2 separate regions of the Homo sapiens genome follow, and region 1 is linked to region 2. The links are contacts of gene promoters, found by promoter capture Hi-C in human tissues and cell types (Jung and others, 2019). All regions are on one chromosome and are shown on one strand. The core of a region is centred on a gene start or on the middle of the fragment in contact, and the rest is flanking DNA. Distances in the headings are between cores, read along the strand shown.

What was found. The method cuts DNA at HindIII sites, captures the fragments that hold promoters and counts their contacts. A contact is called where the count stands out against the background at its distance.
Region 1: a fragment that was not itself captured here is called in contact with the fragment with the promoter of KCNQ4 in region 2 in 1 of the 25 tissues and cell types used here (spleen).

The regions. Positions count from the first base shown.
Region 1 is chr1:40,580,474-40,585,095 of GRCh38, forward strand. No RefSeq gene overlaps it. Among named protein-coding and RNA genes, the nearest start is that of ZNF684, 51 kb to the left of the region's middle. The HindIII fragment of the contact is 6,720 bases long and covers 1-4,622 here.
Region 2 is chr1:40,782,288-40,787,038 of GRCh38, forward strand. KCNQ4 (potassium voltage-gated channel subfamily Q member 4) reads left to right here and starts at 1,500. Exons shown (of 14, transcript NM_004700.4): 1 at 1,500-2,120. The coding sequence starts at 1,807. The HindIII fragment of the contact is 5,875 bases long and covers 1-4,523 here.

The DNA.
Region 1 (4,622 bases), core at 96-2,595, 200 kb before region 2:
CTTCCTATTCTCAAATACTGAACTCTGTGGGAGAAAAGCAAAAATAACCTTTACTTGCCCTCATTGATTCTTATAGAAGGCTGGAATGAAAACTATGTAGGAAATCTTCAAATAAAAGAATTTAGGCCGGGTGCGGTGGCTCATGCCCGTAATCCCAGCATTTTGGGAGGCTGAGGTGGGTGGATCACGTGAGGTCAGGAGTTCTAGACCAGCCTGGCCGACATGGTGAAACCCCCTCTCTGCTAAAAATACACAAATTAGCCGGGCATGGTGGCAGGCGCCTGTAATCCCAGCTACTCGGGGGGCTGAGGCAGGAGAATCGCTTGAACCCGGGAGGCCATCGCACTCCACCTGGGGGACAAGAGTGAGACTTCATCTCAAAAAAAAAAAAAAAAAAAAGAATTATTCTTTACAGAAAACTTTCTTGCTGCCAAATATAGGAAAAGGTGACAGTCAGATAACTCAGATTCACAACTACATTATGACTCCTGAAGGGGAGGATTCCAGGAACACAGATAAGATCTTTCTCTCATCATACATGGGAAGGGGAACCTGCAGGAGCAAGAATGGTAAGGTTAATCTTTGAGGGGATGATACTAAAAAAATACAGAAAATCAAGAGGATACAGCTTGAGAAACGGAGAAATCTGCCCAGCCAGGGCCTTATATAAAATTCTATGATTCCTTGTTAGTATGGTGGTGAGTTTTTAAAAAAGTCCTATGTGAGTGAAGGCCGAAATACATTCTTCAGGCAGCAAAGGTTACTTTGGGATCCAGAACAATATTGAAAGAAGAGTAAAATGTGGGAGTGAGAGACCTTCTCCCAGAAAATATTGCTTAGAGAAGCTCCAAAGTCAACTGTTGCCTGGCTTTATAGAGCAACACTCTCCATTACCTAATGCAGGGGTTCCCAGTCCCCCAGCCACAGGTACCAGTCTGTGGCCTGTTAGGAACCTAGACACACAGCAAAAGGTGAGCGGTGGGTGGCAAGCATTACCACCTGAGCTCCGTCCGCCTTCTGTCAGATCAGCGGCAGCATTAGATTCTCATAGCAGCGCAAACCCTATTGTGAACTGTGCACGCAAGGGATCTAGGCTGTGTGCTCCTTATGAGAATCTAACTAATGCCTGATGATCTGAAGTGGAACAGTTTCATTCCGAAATCCTTCCCCCTCCTCGCCCCTGTCCATGGAAAAATTGTCTTCTATGAAACTGGTCCCTGGTACTCAAAAGGTTGGGGAACGCTGAGCTAATAGCTCAGAAACCTAATCCAACTCTGTACTTAGGGTTACGAATATTTATAACCAGAAATCACAATTTGTCACAAACGGGAACCAAAGAAACATAGAACAGAAGTCCTAATTTTGTAATAACTATGGATTTTTATTTTTATTTTTTTTTGAGATGGAGTCTCGCTCTGTCACCAGGCTGGAGTTCAGTGGCGTGATCTCGGCTCACTGCAACCTCCGCCTCCTGGGTTCAAGCAATTCTCCTGCCTCAGCCTTCCGAGTAGCTGGGACTACCGGCATGTGCCACTATGCCCAGCTAATTTTTGTATTTTTAGTATAGACAGGGTTTCACTATGTTGGTTGGACAGGATGGTCTCGATCTTCTTGATCTCATGATCTGCCCACCTCAGCCTCCCAAAGTGCTGGGATTACAGGCATAAGCCACCGCACCCAGCCAGAAAATTTTTTTGTAATCACTCAAATGTGCAAGGATATACCATAACTCACAGAGAAATTATATATAGATGAATGACTCAGATATAGCTGAACCCCTTACCAACTATCACCAAATTCAGACATTCCACAAGGAGAGAAACCCTGCCAATGTTTGTGGTAGGCCTTCAGCTAAGGTATTTCCTTTGAGATCATGAGACAATCGGACAGAAGAGAACCTTGTATATGTGAAGAATGTGTTAAAAGCTTTGGCCCAATTCCTCTTGGAGTGCACACAATAGAGGGGGCTTATAAATATGATGCATGAATTGTGGGTATCAGCTGGTACAAAAATTTTTCCAATTATGAAAGCACCTGTGCAGGAGGAAAACCTTTGAAGTGAAGGGAATGTGGTCAGGGTTATTGTACAGTTGGAGATCCACATGGGACTCAGGAACCGTATGGGAGAGCAACCCTACCTGTGTGATGAACGTAGTGAGAGCTTCACCAGGTGCTCCTCTCTTCTCCTTTGTAGTACCCTCCCTCCATTCAGGAGAGAAAGCACATCATTATCATTTCTAAGAGCGGTGAGAATTTTTCTCAGAGTGCAAAACTTGGCACTGATGAGCAAGTGCATAGGGGAGAGAGACCCCATAAATGTGATGAGTTCAGTACGGGCTTCTCTCAAGCCTCAGAAGTTCACATTCACCAGAGAATCCACACTAAAGAAAATTGCTATTAATGAGTGTAATACAAACTTCAGTCAGAAGGGAAATGTTCACCTTTAGTAGAATCTAGGCAGAAGAGAATCAATGTGATAATAAGGACTGTCAAAACATTCAAATACATTCAAGTTATAAAGCTGCAGAATAGATGCCTACTATAAATGTGACAATTAAACTTGGGGTTGGGGTGAGGAAGTTTACCCAGTATCTTAAAACTCAACAAAATTATACATAGGAAATAAACAATACCAATAGCCTAAATTAAATCTAAATGAAAATATTACTTGCCAAGTGTTTCAATGTTACAAAATGTTTTAAGGGGTTACCATAAGGTTCTGTTTGTAAGGAAGCAAGGAAGAGAGTTGAAGAGACTGATCTCTTGGCCGGGCAGGGCTGTAATTCCAGCACTTTGGGAGGCCGAGGTGGGCGGATCACCTGAGGTCAGTTCAAGACCAGCCTGGCCAACATGGTGAAACCCTGTCTCTACTAAAAATACAAAAAATTACCCGGGCATGGTGGCAGGTGCCCATAATCCCAGCTACTCGGAGGCCCAGGCAGGAGAATTGCTTGAACCCGGGAGGCTGCAGTGAGCCGAGATTGTGTCATTGCACTCTAGCCTGGGTGACAGAGTGAGACTCCATCTCAAAAAAAAAAAAAAAAAAAAAAAAAAAAAGACTGATCTCTTATAAAACATTCTGGAGCCATAATGAGACCAAACAGAAACAAAATCAAAACCTCAGGGAGAGTTGGTTTCATAACATGACTCACCCAGTGGTAGGAGATTTTGCCAAGAATGCAAGTGACCATGGAGATAAGGCCACAGTGCTATTTTTCCTGGGTAATGATGTTCTATGCAATTGTGTGAAATCTTGTCTTATTTGAGATGTGTGAAACTTTCCACTTTAGCATCTTTTACAAGGGTATATTCATCTCTCAAATTGTGGTTTACAGACCACCTGTATCAGAAGTACTCAAAGTGTGTACTAAAGTGTAAATAGTACTACTTTAGTATTTTATACACAAAAACTTTAGTGTACGTAATTATCTGGGGGTACTTGAAAATACAGATTCCTGAGCCTCATCCCATATCTACTTAATCACTCAGTGGGTACAGAGACCAAGGGTTTGCATTTATAAAAGCTCCTCCCCCAGAGCTGGGCGCAGTGGCTCATACTTATAATCTCAGCAACTTGGGAGGCTGAGGCAGGAGGATTGCTTAAGACCAGGAGTTTGAGACAAGCCTGAGCAACAGAGTGAGACCCCTGTATTAGTCCGTTCTCATGCTGCTATAAAGAACTGCCTGAGACTGGGTAATTTATAAATGAAAGAGGTTTAATTGACTCACAGTTTCGCATTGCTGGGTAGTCCTCAGGAAACTTACAACCATGGTGAAAGGCAAAGGAGAAGCAAACACCTTCTTCACAGGGTGGCAGAACGGAGTGAATGCAAACAGGGGAAATGCCAGACACTTATAAAACCACCATATCTCGTGAGACTCACTCACTATCACGAGAATAGCATGAGGGAAACCGCCCCCATGATCCAATTACCTCCATCTGGTCCTGCCCTTGACACATGGAGATTATGGGGATTACAATTCAAGGTGAGATTTGGGTGGGGACACAGGGCCAAGCCATATCAACCCCTGTCCAAAAAAAAAAAAAAAAGTTTTTAAGCTCTTTTTCCCATTGCAGGTGATTTTTATGCATGCAAAAGCTGGAGAATTATTCTATGAGATGTTTGGATGAGGTCAAGAAAAACAAAATCTTAAGTGGCACTTTTGCTAGTGTCCTGAATCTACTGGATATTGACATTTTTACCAACAAATTGATAGAAATCAGGAAGTAAAATTCAGGAGACTTGAAACACACAACAACCAGCCCAAGGGAATATTAACAAATGGCTGACAGCACCCAGGATAAGACAGGTGATGGCCACAAATGAAAACTAATGGAGTCAAGCAGCCACAATTCAGCTTCAAACAGCATCAGCTTAATAAGGGGAATCTGGTATGAGTCTATTATATCTGAAAAATAAGAAATGGATTGAGAAGTTCAAATATTAGAGTGGGATAATAGTTAAATTATCCTTAGTGCAATGATGATTATATTAGAAACACCAGGATAGGCCGGGCGTGGTGGTTCACGCCTGTAATCCCAGCACTTTAGGAGGCCAAGGTGTGCGGATTACCTGAGGCCAGGAGCTTGAGACCAGCCTGGCCAAGATAGCTAAAAATAC
Region 2 (4,751 bases), core at 250-2,749:
AGAAACTGTCCCCAGCTTCCAGTAGAGGATCCGGGCATAACCTGCCCTGGGGCACCCGGCTCTGGCCCTGGGCACACCTGGACCAGGAGCAGCAGAAGAGATTCAGGTCAGACCCCAGAGGGCACCCCCAGCTAGGCAGAGGGGAAAGGATCACTATGGGGTAGGGGTGTGGGCCGGTTGCCAAGCCCAGTTTAGGGACCCCACAGATCCCTGCAGCCCACGGCCCTGCCTCCCTCCCTCCCTCACTGGCGCTCAGCAGATCAATGCTGCCTTTGCTGACAGCTGAGAATCGAGCTCGCCTTCCCGCCCCTTCCCCCGCCCCTCCCGCTCGGCTTCGTCCCTCGAGATCCTCCCGGAGGAACCGGGAAGAGTTTGCTGCGGAAGGCTCACCCTGGGGCAGGGCCTGCGGAGGGAGCGGCTGGTGTGGCCGCAGCTTTCCGTGGAGGAAGAGGGAAAGAGGATCGGGAAACCCAAGTTACCAACCCTGTGCAGGGCCCAGGAGGGCTAAAGGAGAGGGACTGCCCCCTACAGCCAGAGAGATGGAGGTCGGGGACTAAGAAAAACTTTCCAGCTGGAGAGGGAATGCCCTGGGACAAAGTATCCCCTTTTCTGGCTGGGATTCTGTGGGCCTTGGGTAGGGGGTGTGTGTCCCCTCTAAGGCTGGCTTAGAGCTCATCTCCCAACACTCCATCTGCCCAAACCCAGTTCCCTGACCTGGGAGTGGGGCAGGGGAGCAGGCCCCTCCATCGGGGAGGATCCTCTTCTGGGCAGGGTGGCTCTTCCCCCATCACGATGAAGGGAAGCTCAGAGGTGGCAGTTGGTGGGAGAAAGACACACCCAGGCCCACTGTGTTCCACACACCCTGATGCTGCCTAGCAGCCCGTGGGCTCCAGGCCTTTCAGGTAAGAGCAGGACAACCGCCGCTGCCCACCCAGCCACACACAGCACTGGGCACACTTTAAGCACCCGCACCAGGCACACAGTGCTCGACCCCAACGGACACACCTCATCCCCTTCGGACTCCACCTCCACTTTCGCAGCCACCCACACCCGACCCATAACTCACACCTCACTGACTCCATCCCCGCACCTGGTAGACCCACAGCCACCCACCCTGCACACACAAGTAGACGCCGTTCCACCGGTCTACACCTAAACTCCACGGGACACTGCGTCCCTTCCCCTGCCGCCCGCGGCCACAACTCCACATTCCACTTTCCACAAGCACACACGAGGCGTCCCACCCCGGGCTGGCCTTCGGGGCCACACTGCCCCACGCAGCGGTGGACACCACTTGCACGCGTCCGGCTTCCCGGCCCCGCGCGCTGCCCCCGCCACGCGGTTCGGCCCAGGCACCAACTCGGCCGCCCGTGCGCCCTGCCCCGCCGCCTGCTCCGCGCGTTCCCTCCCTCCGCCTCGCCTCGCTTGCTCGCTCGCTCCCTCCCGATTTGGGAAGGCGGCCGCGGGGCGGGCGGGGGAGGGGCGGGGCGGGGGAGGGTGACATGTGAGCGGCGCGCGCCGGTGGCAGGTGGAAAGGCGAGCGGCATGGAGCGCGTAATAAGAGAGTTGGAGTCGGAAAGAGCAGCCCCAGTCGCCGGGGAAGCGGGAGGTCAGTGCGGGCTCCGGCGGCCCCCAGGCTCCGAGCGCCCGCCCGCGGCCCCGGCCCGGCCCCTAGCCCCCGCCGCCCGCGCCCGCCCCGGGTCGCCCCTCTGGCCCCGGGTCCGAGCCATGCGTCTCTGAGCGCCCCGAGCGCGCCCCCGCCCCGGACCGTGCCCGGGCCCCGGCGCCCCCAGCCCGGCGCCGCCCATGGCCGAGGCCCCCCCGCGCCGCCTCGGCCTGGGTCCCCCGCCCGGGGACGCCCCCCGCGCGGAGCTAGTGGCGCTCACGGCCGTGCAGAGCGAACAGGGCGAGGCGGGCGGGGGCGGCTCCCCGCGCCGCCTCGGCCTCCTGGGCAGCCCCCTGCCGCCGGGCGCGCCCCTCCCTGGGCCGGGCTCCGGCTCGGGCTCCGCCTGCGGCCAGCGCTCCTCGGCCGCGCACAAGCGCTACCGCCGCCTGCAGAACTGGGTCTACAACGTGCTGGAGCGGCCCCGCGGCTGGGCCTTCGTCTACCACGTCTTCATGTGAGTTTGCGACCCCGCGCCCTTCCGCGTTTCCCCGCGCAAGCCTGGCCTCCCGGGGCACGGCCGCCCCGCCCTGGCTCCGCCTTCTACCCCCCTGCCTCAGGGCCGACCCTCATCTCTCTCCCCCCAGGCCTAAGCCCGGTTTCTGATCCCCTCGCTGAGCCCGACCCTAAGCCCTGATCTCCCAGGCCTGACCCCTGCTTGACCTCGCTTCTGACCTCCCCGCACCGCAACTGCTTATTTCCATCCTGACCGCCAATCTCTGCTCCTCTGTCCCAGGTACTCCCGACCGCCAGCTGCCTCCCCCAAGTCCGCTTGGCGAAGTCTGGGGCCCCTGGAGTGGGCGCCCTTTTCCTCTTCCCCACCCCTGCCTCCCTGTGTCCCAGACACAAAGAGGAACCCTTGGCTCCCACACGCTTCTGTCACCTGCTCCCCAGCTCTGAGCTATGAAGGGCTCCCCTCAGGGGTGCTCCTCTCCAGGGCGGCCCTCATTCCTACCCCTGCCCAGCTGACTGTGGGTGTGTGGGGGTCCCTGTGGGCCCCCTGGGCCCTGACACTCGCATATGCTGTGTCCGACTTGATCTGTGTCTTCGCTCAGTCTTCCCCTCCACCCTCAACTTCCCAGTGGCAACGGCGGCCGCCCTGCCTGCCCTGCCCTACCCTGCCGGCTTGGCCCAGCTCGCCTGCCTTGTTGGCTGGCAGCACCAGGCCTGGCTCTAGGCACCAGGGGAAAAAGAAAGAGGAGAGGGGTAGGTTTGGAAACACTGACGCTGCTGGGGCCCCCTCCTCCCTCTCACCAGGCTCCTACAACTTTCAAAAACACTGACCCCTCTTGGGTGTGAAGAGTGAATTTTGGCAGCTCAGAGCTCAGTCTTGGGGTACGGCCTGGCCCAGCCAGGAACATGAGAGGCCCCGCAGATATCAGTTGAAGGGCTGGGCCTGACGCTGGGACGCTCAGAGGTGCCCAGAGAGAGACCTCTGGTCCCTGGAAAATGTGTGGCTATTAATCCCTTTTTGCTGCCACCAGAGAGGGCCCTTTGGCGCTGGGGTCTCCTGGGTGGCCCACCTGCCTGCCCACCTGACTGTCTAGCAGCCCTCCTGCTGGCCTGGCTGTCCCTCTGCCAGCCTGAGTTTCCACCTGTGTGCGAGTTGGCCAGTCTGCTCACCCTTCCACCTAACTGTCCGCAGTCCTTCTGCTTGCCTGTTTCCATCCATCTGTGGCCTGTGCAGTTATCCGGGTGCCTGTCTGTGCATCTGCCTATCCACCTGTCCACCTGACTGTCCACTCTTCCTCTACCTGTCTTTTCCACCTGTCTCTGGGTCTGTCCTTCGGCCTGTTTCTCGGGTGCTTGCTGGCCTGCCTCTGCCCCATCTGAACTGGGCCCACATAATTTCAGAGGTGAAGGGGAGAAAGATGCGGCACAGGGAGGGGCAGGGGGGGAAGACAGCAGGGCTCTCTCGGCCATTAAGTGCGTTGGGGGTGGCAACCTTGACTCTGTGCAGAGACCTCAGCTGGGCTAGGCTGGGGCAGAGAGTTGAAATTGCTCAGGACATGAGGTCAAGCTTCGGTTCAGGGTCAACGGTTTGTAGTAGCCCAGTCCTTAGTGTCCATTGGGAGGCCTAGGATGAATATTTGTGGCTATAAAGAGGCCCGTTGGAGTGAGGAAGGCCCAGGGCTGGTGGAGTTGGGGGTGAGGGGATGGGGACTACTTCTTAGGAGTGGCTACAGAGCAGCCTCCTTGAGTGCCTAAGGAGGGTGAGACACCCCCCAGAGAACAACTGTGCCCTCCGTGGGCTCCTCTTGGGAAGGGACTTTTCCAAGGCATGGCAGGGCCTGGGGAAGCCAATAGGGCTCTGAGGTGGGGTCCTTACCCCCCCAGGCTTGGCCTTACAGCCCCCACAAGGGTCAGTGGAGGTGAAGGACCTGCCTCCTGTCCCCTGGCCAGCTGCTGTTGGTGCCTCCTTTGAAAGGACCGCCCCTTCCTCTCCAGGAGCTAATCCACTGGCACCTTTGCCCCACATCCTGCCCTTTCCTGATGCCAGGAAATGCCCTCGCCAGGGCCGTGCTTGTCCTGACCACTTGTCCCCGGGAGCCCAGGGCCAGGGCATGTCTTGGGAACTCTGGGGGAAGAAGTATGGTGTGAAAGTGTCCTGGTGTTTAAGGATCTCAGGGAATTGGTCACCCATCTTAGAGGTCAAAGGGGACAGAGGTGTCAGGAACCCCACCTCTTATGTGCTCTGTGACGTTGGGTTGATTGCTGGGCCTCTCTGAGCTTTAGGTCTGTAGGTTGTCAAAGCGGGTAGAAACCCCAACCTTGCGGCCTCTCTCTTGGATGAGGTAATAGAGTGGGAAAGAGCTTGGTAAGCTCCAGGGGCCTGTCTGAGCTTGAAAGACGGTTGTTATTATTGGGGCTGGAGGAGGGGGCCCACACAGAAGGTCTCTCCTGTTTGTGAGGAGCTCCAGATGTGGGGTTTCTCAGTCACACTGCAGGGTCTTGCCAGGAAGTACTTCCTGCTGTTGGACTCCTAGCCAGACCATTACACTTTGGGTCAAATCCTTTCTCCTCTTCCCAATCTGCCTCAGTGGCAGCCCAAGTGAGGGGAGTCCAGGGAGTACTGTTAGCTAGGACC